Linked DNA regions of Homo sapiens: all the other regions are linked to region 1. Evidence: promoter capture Hi-C in 16 types of primary human blood cells and fetal thymus (Javierre and others, 2016). All regions are on one chromosome and are shown on one strand. Each heading gives the region's core, a stretch centred on a gene start or on the middle of the fragment in contact. The rest is flanking DNA. Distances are from core to core; before and after follow the strand shown. Region 1 holds the start of RCAN1 (regulator of calcineurin 1). Region 2 has its middle 4.5 kb from the start of ATP5PO. Region 3 overlaps LINC00649 (long intergenic non-protein coding RNA 649). Region 4 overlaps ATP5PO (ATP synthase peripheral stalk subunit OSCP).

Region 1 (2,700 bases), core at 39-2,538:
TTTCCTTAGTGATTTTGGGGGCCCAAGATTTCCCTTTCACAGTATGACGGTTCCAATTTCTTCACATCCTCATATCATATTCTATTTTATGAGTTATCTCTAGATGGGTATTATTATTCCTCTTGGGTTTAGCTCCCTGAGGACACAAACTGTCCTAAGACTATGATAATAGTAATCATAGAACCGTGCACATGGCAAGTTCTGAATAAATCTCAGCTGTTGGATATACTTTTTGTTATAATTACTAACACTTCCTAACTAGAGAGTAAGCCTACTCTAAGAAAAAATATAACTGTAATTTCACAACCTCCAAAGAACCCAGTGCATAAACAGCTACCATTTATTAAGCACTGACTGAATTCTTAGTAATATGTCTTCATTTTTTTCAGATGAGGAAACTAAGATTCAGCTTATTTGTACAAGTAGTTAAAAAGCAAAGCTGAAATTCAGACCCAAGTTCTCACTGTATCATACTGTCCAAAAAAGAATTCTATTTTTCAGGAAGAGACATGTCTGCTCACTTGAGGTCCTCTTATTTTTCCGCTATTCCCCAAAGGAAAGGGGTGATCTCTTAATTCTTTCGTTATGTCCTATTGTACATAGCATATAATGGTAATTCAGAAAAATTACTTCTAATTACATAAATTTTCACAATGGTATAGTGACTAATACGCTGAAATAGAAAAGTAAGGCATTGTTATCATGGTCTAGTTCAGTCTTTATTGCGACTATATCTGATAATATACGGTAAGCATCTAACCACTTGCCAGGGGCCACAGAGCCACAGGGAGACTATGTCTCGCTTAAATTCCCAAAAGTGGGCCCCTGTGCTTCAAAACGTCCCCGCATGGGAACCACAAAAACGTTGCCTCCCCAGTTATCACCCCAAGGGCCCAAGAGCCGAGGACTCTGCCCGGCGTCCTTCAGCTGGCACCAGCTGTCAGAAAAGCGGAACTGGGGACGAGGACTTTGCCCCTAACCAACATGGCCGCCCTGAGGCTTCGGGCTTCGGGCGGCAGAAGGAAGGTCACGTGAAGAGAATTCCGTTCCTTTATTGGCCCCGTCTCCTGGAAGGGCGGGGTACAATAACCCAACCGGCGCCGGCCTTAAAGGGGCCACCGTTGGATCTGCCGGTGGCCGGCCCTAGGGGCTGGGGGGGCGGTCGCCGCGCCGGGCTTCTGCCCCTCCCGCGCGGAACGGTGACGGGCGGGGCTGGCGCTGGGAGGCCGTGTCGCTGGGAGACTGCTGACAGCCCGCCGCCTGCCGCCGCGCGATTCCGAGGGGGTTAACGGCGGAGCCGCCGGCCGGGCGCGGACCGGAGCGCGTGAGGCTCCGGCGCGCAAGCCCGGAGCAGCCCGCTGGGGCGCACAGGGTCGCGCGGGCGCGGGGATGGAGGACGGCGTGGCCGGTCCCCAGCTCGGGGCCGCGGCGGAGGCGGCGGAGGCGGCCGAGGCGCGAGCGCGGCCCGGGGTGACGCTGCGGCCCTTCGCGCCCCTCTCGGGGGCGGCCGAGGCGGACGAGGGCGGCGGCGACTGGAGCTTCATTGACTGCGAGATGGAGGAGGTGGACCTGCAGGACCTGCCCAGCGCCACCATCGCCTGTCACCTGGACCCGCGCGTGTTCGTGGACGGCCTGTGCCGGGTGAGGACCGCGCCGGGCGGGCCGTCGGGGCGGAGGGCGGACACTTGTTGCCCGAGGAGGCGGCGCGGGTCGCAGCGCCCAGTCCCGGCCGCGCGCGGGGCGGGGAGGCAGCGACGTCCCCCGGGCTGCTCGGCCGCGGACCCGTCAGGGCTGGGGCGTGGGGACGGCGCCCCGAGGGTCCCGGTCCCCTAGCACCCCCGGGGCGCGCGGAGCTCACTGCAGAGTCCCACAGGCTCGCCCCGGCCCCCGTGTGCGCCCAGGCTGGTGCGACTAGGGGGGTGAATTCGCTCCCCAAGGTGGGGCAGCGCCGCCGCCCCCTGCGCTCTCGCCATCGCCCCGCATTTACTCGCTGGAGGAGGGGGTCACCTCATTCCTAGGGAGGAGGAAACAGACATTGAGCGGCGACGTGACTCAGTGTTCATAAATAGGACGACGTCCCTGCATTCCCAATCTGCACTATTGGAAGAAAAGCCAATGTTTGGGTGAGGATCCGTGGTTGCTCATTAGCCAGCGGCTGGCCAGTTTTGGTGGAATTGTGTTGGGGGGAAGGGGACCATCTTTCAGACCTTTAGGATATTTAGTCAAGAACCTTGCCCCCTTGTGTGAAGGTGTGGCTTGCCGCCATCGGGGACACCCAGTACATGGGGAGTCGACTCCTTCCCCCGCCTCCCCCCACCCCCGCAAAATCCACACAATTTAGACACTTTGGAGGGTGAGGGGCAGGTATGAGTAATCAATAATGGTGGTGGGGAGGAAGAATTTATTTCAAATCTGCAGTTATTGTGCAGAATAAAATGTGGACAACGTGGGCGTCACAGAATGAAACCGGTCTTTGAGAGATGCCCCATTAGGAGAGCAGCTGTCAAAAAAAGCAGTGCTTTCAGCGCTTGGCTGTGGGTCCACAAATGCTGTCAATGAACTATAGTTGAAGGCTGCTGCCAATACAACACCACTGTGAAACAGAATGGTGTATGTAAGTGTCATTTATTTATAATTTATATGTTCACTTACTTTCTGAAAGGAATTACAATGGCCGTGTGCTTAGGTAAGCTTCCAGGC
Region 2 (2,700 bases), core at 91-2,590, 690 kb after region 1:
AAAATAAAACAGCGAGCAATATTTATTTTGAATTGAAGGTCAGTGTAAACAAAAACATCGAGATTAGATGTCCGAGTTTTGCCCTGTGGCCTTGGGCAAGTACCTTTGACTCCATTGGCCTCAACTACTAAAATATTAAAATAACTCATTTTTAAATGATTTGAGTTTGTGCAGAGAGAAAGCGCGATAACTGCAGAGTGCTAAGTCTCTTCACTTCTTTTTCTTTTTTTGTTTTTTTTTTTTTTTTTTTGAGACAGGGTCTCACTCTGTCACCCAGGCTGGAGCACAGTGGTGCGATCTTGGCTTACTGCAACCTCTGCCCCTCAGGGTTCAAGTGATTCTCCCACCTCAGCCTCCCAAGTAGCTGGGACCATACGCCCAGCTAATTTTTTTTTTTTTTTTTTTTGTAGATACATTGTTTCACCATGTTGCCGAGGCTGGTCTTGAACTCCTGAGTTCAAGCCCATCTGCCCACCTCAGCCTCCCAAAGTACTTAGATTGCAGGTGTGAGCCACAGCGCCCGGCCTCTTCCCTTATAGGATACAACTTTTTGTTCCTTTCCAAATGCTCTGTTCTTGCATAGCAGAGGGTGTGGCAGTGTCACAGCTGGGAAGTTTCTGCCAGTTCCCTCCACATGGGAGTTTGCACATGGCGCCCTGGCCTGACATCACAGTGATTTGCCTACAGGCACCCAGAAATCCAAGAGCAGGCAGGAGGGAGGTGTGGATGCAGTGTTATCAGGCTTCAGGGCTTCTGTGTTTCTCCCTTTGCCCACACCACTAAAATACAGGCTAGCTTCAAAATCCCATTCCAGAAACACATCCTGAATGATTCACTTATTCTTTCAACCATAGAGATGGAAAGAGATGGGACTTGGTGCAGGTGCCTGGGTTTGAGATGCAAATTGCCATTTCCTAGACAAGCTGCGTAAGCAGGATCCAAAACGTTTTCACCATCTATAAAATGGGGGAATACCAAGCCCATCTACATCTCGAGTCATCCTAAAACTCAAAATAAAAATGAAACCATATATGTGCAACCAGTTAACAAATCCTAAAATTGAAATGACCATAAACCACTATTTTGGAGATGTGCAAGTGGCTGGAAATTATTCTAGATATGAAAGAAAGTGTGTCTTAATATGTTTAGAAGATTCAGAATTGTTTAAAATGTCAAAAAGTTGGGGGCAGGGCACCAAGCGCGGCGGCTCACACCTGTAATCTCAGCACTTTGAGAGGCCGAGGTGGGTGGATCTGGAAGCCAGGAGTTTGAGATCATCCTTGGGTAAATACAAAATAAACAGAGGGTATTTCTCTGCTGCTGTGCAACCTTACAGTTTACTTATAATTAATTTTTTTTCCTTTTTTCTCCTTATAATTAATTTTCCATGCAGCTTTTCAATTTTCTCTCACCAAGTTGTGTCAGTTTTGGAAATCTATTTCAAAATTTTTCTAGATATAAAAAAAGATGCTTAGAAGATTCAGAATTGTTTAAAATGGCAAAAAAAAAAAAAGTGGGGGTTGGTGGTGCCAAGCAAGGTGGCTCACACCTATAATCCCAGCACTTTGGGAGGCCAAGGCAGGAGGATCGCTTGAGCTCAGGAGTTCGAGACCAGCTTGGGCAACATGGCAAAAACCTGTGTCTACAAAATACAAAATTAGCTGGGTGTGGCTGTGTGCACATGTAGTCCCAGCTACTCAGGAGGCTGAGGTGGGAGGATTGCTTGAGCCTGGGAGGCTGAGGCTGTACTCAGCCATGACTGTGCCACTGCACTTTAGCCTGGGCAACAGAGTGAGGCCCTATCTCAAAAAATAAGCAAATAAATAAAATAAAATGGCAAAAAAAAAAACAAAAAGCAGAAACCATCTGAATTATATTCAGAGTCTAGAGTTTCCCAAGTATAGTTGACCCTAGAACTTTTTATTTGTATTACATCTGTTAACACCCACACTTCAGAAAACACAGGTTTTGCAGTTTAATTTCTCATAGAATATAAAGTTTATAAAGGTAGGCACTGTGTCTTGTATCCTGTTGTAGCCTCAGTGAATAGAACAGCTGGCTACATGTAATAGCTGCTCAATAAATTGTGTTAAATAATGTGTTGAATACTTTTCATTAGGCTTATTTGAAAATAGTCTCTGAAAGTTTGCAGAGTAGAGTGAAACAAGGGTTTTCATGTGCTGCTACGGAAAGTATAAATTGGTTAAAATTTTGAAAAGCAGCTTGGCCTCATGCATCAGAGGCTCTTAGAGTACTCATATTCTCTCACCAAGTTGTGTAAATTCTGGAAATCTATTCGGAAATTTTCCTAAATATGAAAAAAAAAAATGACTGGGCATGGTGGTGTGCACCTGTAGTCCCAACTACTTGGGAGGCTGAGGTAGAAGGATTGCTTTAGTCCAGGAGCTCTCAGCTGTAGTGCACCATGCCGGTCAGGTGTCCACACTAAATTAAGCATCAATATGGTGACCTCCCAGGAGCAGGGGACCACAAGGTTGCCTAAGGAGAGGTGAACCAGCCAAGTCAGAAACAGAGTAGGTCCAAACTACCATTTTTAGGCCGGGCATGGTAGCTCATGCCTGTAATCCCAGCACTTTGGGAGGCCAAGGTGGGCAGATCACCTGAGGTCAGGAGTTCAAGACCAGCCTGGCCAATATGGCGAAACCCCATCTCTACTAAAAATACAAAAACTAGCTGGGT
Region 3 (2,700 bases), core at 27-2,526, 680 kb after region 1:
TTTCAGGGTGGTAGCATGTGTCAGTACTTCATTCCTTTTTATGGCTGAATAATATTCCATTGTATGGATATGCCAGATATTGTTTACTCATGCATCCATTGATAAATATGTGAGTGGTTTCCACTTTTTTTCCAGTGCAGTGAATCTTATTCTCTGGTTTACCAGCAGAAAGCTGTCACATGAGCTTCCATTATTTGAATTGTTTAAAAAGTGGAACTTGGGGGTGAAGGGGAGTGTGATCACTTCTGGACAGAACAATCGTGTCTTCATCTGCATCAATATTCATTCTGGTAAGTCTTACCAGAGATACTACTGGGGGAACTGAAACATTTGTACCTCCAAAAGAGTGTGTGACTTTAAGTGAAAATTGCTGAGCACCAAAGCCCATTCCATGGATTTTAAAATGCCACGGGATTAGGGGTAATCTTTAGCTTTTATGTTCTGCCAGTGAGAGGGCATTGAGTTTGTAGATTCCCAGGCATGACTGAAGCCAAGTCTCAGCTTATGTGGAACTCGCTTTTCATTCTGTAAACAACATACTCAGGCCTGTGCGTATCAGAGTTTCAGCTTTACTTCTTTTCCCACAGTCCAAGCTGTTGATTTCCTCACTGTATTTTTATGAGTTAGAAAAACATGAAATATCACAGAACTGTGATTACAACATGACTCTAGATGTCCTTGTCTTTTCCTAAATCACACTAAGTTAAGAATAAGGCCAATAAAACAATTATCCAGTTGACATGAGACCTCTGAGTTCAGACTTTTCTAAATGGGAGAGGAGGGGGAAAAAATCCAACTCAGCTGTATGTCGTCTTCTTCTAGATGTTTAACACAATTTTTTTTTTTTTGAGATGGAGTCTCGCTCTGTCACCCAAGCCAGAGTGCAGTGGTGTGATCTCAGCTCATTGCAAACTCTTCCCCCCGGGTTCAAGTGATTCTCCTGCCTCAGCCTCCCGAGTAGATGGGATTATAGGTGCAAGCCACCACGCCTGGCTAATTTTTGTATTTTTAGTAGAGACGGGGTTTCGCCATGTTGGCCAGGCTGGTCTCGAACTCCTAACCTCAGGTGATCAACCCACCTTGGCCTCCCAAAGTGCTGGGATTACAGGCATGAGCCACCGCACCTGGACTATAATTTTAAAATTATCACATATGCCAGCAAAAAGAGTAGAAAGTCTTAATTGAAAGCTTTATCACAAAAAAAAAAAATTTACTAAGTACCTACTATGTGCCAGAAAGAGTAATGAGTTCCATGGTGTCTTGTGATGTAATTGAAAAGATTTAACCATTAAAACCGTCAGAATTTGCCAGGGGCTGTGGGGAAGAAGGAATGGAAAGTGACCGCTAATGGGTATGAAGCTTCTTTGGGGGTGAAGAAAATGTTCTAGAACCAGATAGTGGTGATGGTTGCACAACCTTGTGAATATACTGAAAACCACTGAAATGTAAGCTTTAAAAGAGTACAGAAATTTTACGGTATGTACCATACCATAAAATTGAAAATAATTTTGAATAATTTGAAAAGTGAAATAATAATGACACATCATAGTATCATTAAAAGAAAAACTTCAGCCAAATTAAATTTAAAGGAGTTTAATTGAGCAATGAACAATGCACGAATCGGGCAGCCCCCAGGATCACGGCAGATTCAGAGAGACTCCAGGGATGATCGCTTCTCGGCCTTTTGGCTAAGATCAAGTGTGAGACTCCAGGGATGACTCGGGTCTGAACAAATTTATAAAAAAAAAAAAAAAAAAAAAAGGAAGTGACGTACAGAAATCGGAGGTGAGATTCTGAAACAGCTGGATCGGTTACAGCTCGGCGTTTGCCTTATTTGAACAGAGTGTGAACACTCAGCAGTGTATGAGCGGTTGAAGTAAGGCTGCTGGGATTGGCCAAGACTCGGCAATTGTTACAGCTGCATACTCCTCAATTAGGATTTCAATCTTGTCATAATCCTAAATTAGGGTTTCAATCTGTTTCAAAGTTAGGTTGCAGTTCGTCCACAAGGACTCAAATATGGAAGTAGGAAGTCCGGGGCCGGGCACGGTGGCTCATGCCTGTAATCCCAGCACTTTGGGAGGCTAAGGTGGGCAGTTCACTTGAAGTCAGGAGTTTGTGACCAGCCTGGCCAACATGGTGAAACCCTGTCTCTACTAAAAATATAAAAATTCGAAAAATTAGCTTAGCATGGTAGTGGACACCTGTAATCCCAGCTACTCAGGAGGCTGAGGCAGGAGAATCTCTTGAACCCAGGAGGTGAAGGCTGCAGTGAGCCAAGATCGTGCCACTGCACTCCAGCCTGGGCTACAAAGCAAGACTTCATCTCAAAAAAAAAAAAAAAAGAAGAAGTAGGGAGTCCTTTTCAGGCCATATCCATATATAGTTTGCTTTAACAGTATTTTTTAAAGACTTAAAAAACATGCCTGGGGGTGAGGTAGAGGAGAGATTCTCTTTCAAAACAGTTTTGCTACTGAGCAAAAACTAGAGTCAATTTCCCTGTCCTGTTGCCACTATCCAGATTGGCTGCAGTCCTCCCCTAGCTGTTCCCACTACAGGCCTCTGGCATCCCAAAACCCCCAGCTTTGTCTGGTTCAGTGAACACCCCAGTCCACACACTGCAGTGGAACCTCTCTTAACTGCTTTGCCCCCAAGGATGTATGTTTCAAGAGAACGCTGCCTGGCTTACAACGTGATTTG
Region 4 (2,700 bases), core at 36-2,535, 710 kb after region 1:
CCGTCCTTGAACGGCTGAGTGGGAGCTGCCCGGGTGATGCTGTGAGGCAGGGCCTTCCTGTGCTCCCTGAACCTCCAGCGTGAACAAGGAGTGAATGCTGCAGAGCAGCTCCATGATGGGCCCAGGTAGCAAAGGGAGGAGCTCACAAGGCCTGTCTTGGTGATGTGGGCCTGGGGTATTTTAACTCTGGAAGTTTCTGTTTTGCTTTATCTAAATTGAAAGGATGGTTTTGCCTTTCAGCCTTTAGAAGAAGCCACACTCTCTGAATTAAAAACTGTCCTCAAGAGCTTCCTAAGTCAAGGCCAAGTATTGAAATTGGAGGCTAAGGTAGGTTTTAAATTATTTATGGTACGTTTTCTCGGGTTATTTTAAGCTTAAAATGGCTACAGAAAGTACTAGTGAAATATTAGATCTAACTCTATACTAATTTTTCTGTAGTTAAAATTTTGTATTTATTTTAAATTTAAATGATTATCTGACTGTGCAGTTTTACTTTTGCCTTTTTCTAGGTGTAATTATAACCTCTTACATTTGTGCAACACATTTAGCCTTTCAAAACACTTTTTTGTGTGTCCCATTTGATTAGCGCGTTTTCACATTTCCAGTCTTACTTCTTTTGTAGACTGATCCGTCAATCTTGGGTGGAATGATTGTGCGCATTGGCGAGAAATATGTTGACATGTCTGTCAAGACCAAGATTCAGAAGCTGGGCAGGGCTATGCGGGAGATTGTCTAAAAGTGTTGGTTTTCTGCCATCAGTGAAAATTCTTAAACTTGGAGCAACAATAAAAAGCTTCCAGAACAGATCATATTATGTTCACTGTCTTTTAAACTGGAATGTAGAAGGCTTTATTTTTATGTCCTTTTTTGGTATCCCCTGAGTATAAAGGCCAAAAAGCCCTTTTGGCCTAGAGAATTTGGTTTGAGTAGATTATGTTTAGGAATTAATTGGTTAGACACAGCACCTAACACATGGTCACTCAGCAAAGTCTATCTGGTCCTGCCTGCCAAAATCCCGTGTCTTTAAGGGTTTGTTCAGAGTTCCTGGTCCCTACTAGATCATCGGATCTGTGTTTGATCCATAGCCCTCCAGGGAGGCCTCTTGCCCTTGATCCTAACATGAACACACCTAGTTGTAGGCTGCTCTGTAGCTTTCAAGGCCATTTCATGTACATCTGAAGCTGCATGACAGCCTTGTCACACGGGTGGGAGAGACATCACCCCACTTTACAAATGAGGAAAGAGATTGAGGGGCCCTAGAGATGTGCTCAGAGTCACCTGTCTGGACAGCTGGTGTCAGGCCCTACAGCCCATGTTTTTACCACTGTATAACTAACACCATGCGCCGACACGTTGCTGGAGCAAACGGGCAAAAGTTACCTTAGGTAGGTCCCCTGCCCCTTCCCGCTTTGTCCCTAAGATGCTCCCAATTCACCTTTTAACCAAAACCAGTTCCCAGGTCAGCTCTTCCACTACATTTTACCTTTTGGTCTTCTAGAGAAAATAGTTACAGAGTTCCCCACGCAACAGCCCGCTCAGGTGCCTGTTCCTTAGTCAACCTCCAAGAACTTTTGGCCAACAAACCAGTTCCCTTCCCAGAACCACCCCTGGTTGGGCAGAGGCAGGACCATTGCAGCAAAGAAGTCCTACAGAGCAATGACATGGCCCAGCGCTGCTCCCTATGTGCTAGTGCTGGGACTGGCGTGCCCTCCATGTGGCACAACACTCCTGACACTCATGCTTGGCTTCAACTCCAGCTTCCTCCTGGCAAAGCTTTTAATACATGATCACCTAATGTGACAACCAACGGAGACACCACGTGGCCCCTCAGCCTTTCCAGGAACCAGGAGTGCTGAGGCCCCTCAACCTTTCCAGGAACCAGGAGTGCTGAGGCCCCTCAACCTTTCCAGGAACCAGGAGTGCTGAGGCTGCTGGCTGGCCCGAAGACCATTCAGCCACCTTTTAGGTGGGCCTAGGGCTACTCAGCTAGAGACCACATTCTTGAGCCTCTGGCAGCACCTGACCTTGGTGCTGAGTTCTGGCAAATGGGAAAGGAGAGGAAGCGAGGTGTGCCTTCCTGGACTGCCCTCTTGAGCAATCCTTAGTCCATCCCTCTAGCTAGATGCAGACAAGATGGCAAGCGATGCCAAGGGCAGAGCCACCCTGCCAAGCCTTACTGCTGCCCCTGGGCTGTTAAACACGATGAAGAAATAGACCTCTCTTCAAAGCCACGGGATATTGAGTTCTGTCTCCGCAGCTGAGTCTGCAACCTAACCATGACCACATTCCAGGTTCCCCCAGACTCACTGCCTGCCTCCTGCCTGCAGTGAGGCCTGCTCTGCAGAAGGTGGCGTCATACACACAATCACAGCTCCTACAGACATGTGACTGCCAATGGACAAACCGTCTTTGCGGGAGCCTCATGCTGCTGATGCTGCCCAGATCCTTCAGAGTCAAACTCAGCAAGCTTCCTGTTGATCAAGCACATACAATCTTGGGGAATGATGAGGCCCTTCATATGTCGCCTTACGAGGTCACCAGAGAGAACCTAGAGATCTATGTACAATGATTTGTTTTGTTTTTTGAGACAGTCTCACGCCATCACTCAGGCTGGAGTGCAGTGGCACGACCATGGCTCACTGCAACCTCAACCTCCTGGGCTCAAACCATCCTCCCACCTCAGCTGAAACTACAGGCAGT

What was found. The method cuts DNA at HindIII sites, captures the fragments that hold promoters and counts their contacts. A CHiCAGO score of 5 or more calls a contact.
Region 2: a fragment that was not itself captured here is called in contact with the fragment with the promoter of RCAN1 in region 1 in 12 of 17 cell types (total B cells, naive B cells, naive CD8 T cells and 9 more); the score reaches 16.0 in total B cells.
Region 3: a contact is called between a fragment that was not itself captured here and the fragment with the promoter of RCAN1 in region 1, in 2 of 17 cell types (total B cells and naive B cells). The highest score is 7.5, in total B cells.
Region 4: a contact is called between a fragment that was not itself captured here and the fragment with the promoter of RCAN1 in region 1, in 2 of 17 cell types (total B cells and naive B cells). The highest score is 5.5, in total B cells.

What each region holds. Positions count from the first base shown.
Region 1 is chr21:34,613,701-34,616,400 of GRCh38, reverse strand. RCAN1 (regulator of calcineurin 1) reads left to right here and starts at 1,288. Exons shown (of 4, transcript NM_004414.7): 1 at 1,288-1,641. The coding sequence starts at 1,390. RefSeq lists silencers at 1,054-1,483, 1,674-1,773. The HindIII fragment of the contact is 8,899 bases long and covers 1-2,693 here.
Region 2 is chr21:33,918,969-33,921,668 of GRCh38, reverse strand. It overlaps the pseudogene RN7SL740P. Among named protein-coding and RNA genes, the nearest start is that of ATP5PO, 4.5 kb to the right of the region's middle. The HindIII fragment of the contact is 5,747 bases long and covers 1-2,700 here.
Region 3 is chr21:33,937,250-33,939,949 of GRCh38, reverse strand. All of the region lies in intron 1 of LINC00649 (long intergenic non-protein coding RNA 649), which reads right to left. Among named protein-coding and RNA genes, the nearest start is that of LINC00649, 7.5 kb to the right of the region's middle. The HindIII fragment of the contact is 171 bases long and covers 1,191-1,361 here.
Region 4 is chr21:33,901,562-33,904,261 of GRCh38, reverse strand. It overlaps ATP5PO (ATP synthase peripheral stalk subunit OSCP), which reads left to right. Exons shown (of 7, transcript NM_001697.3): 6 at 241-327; 7 at 623-809. The coding sequence ends at 736. Among named protein-coding and RNA genes, the nearest start is that of ATP5PO, 13 kb to the left of the region's middle. RefSeq lists an enhancer at 1,886-2,481. The HindIII fragment of the contact is 980 bases long and covers 796-1,775 here.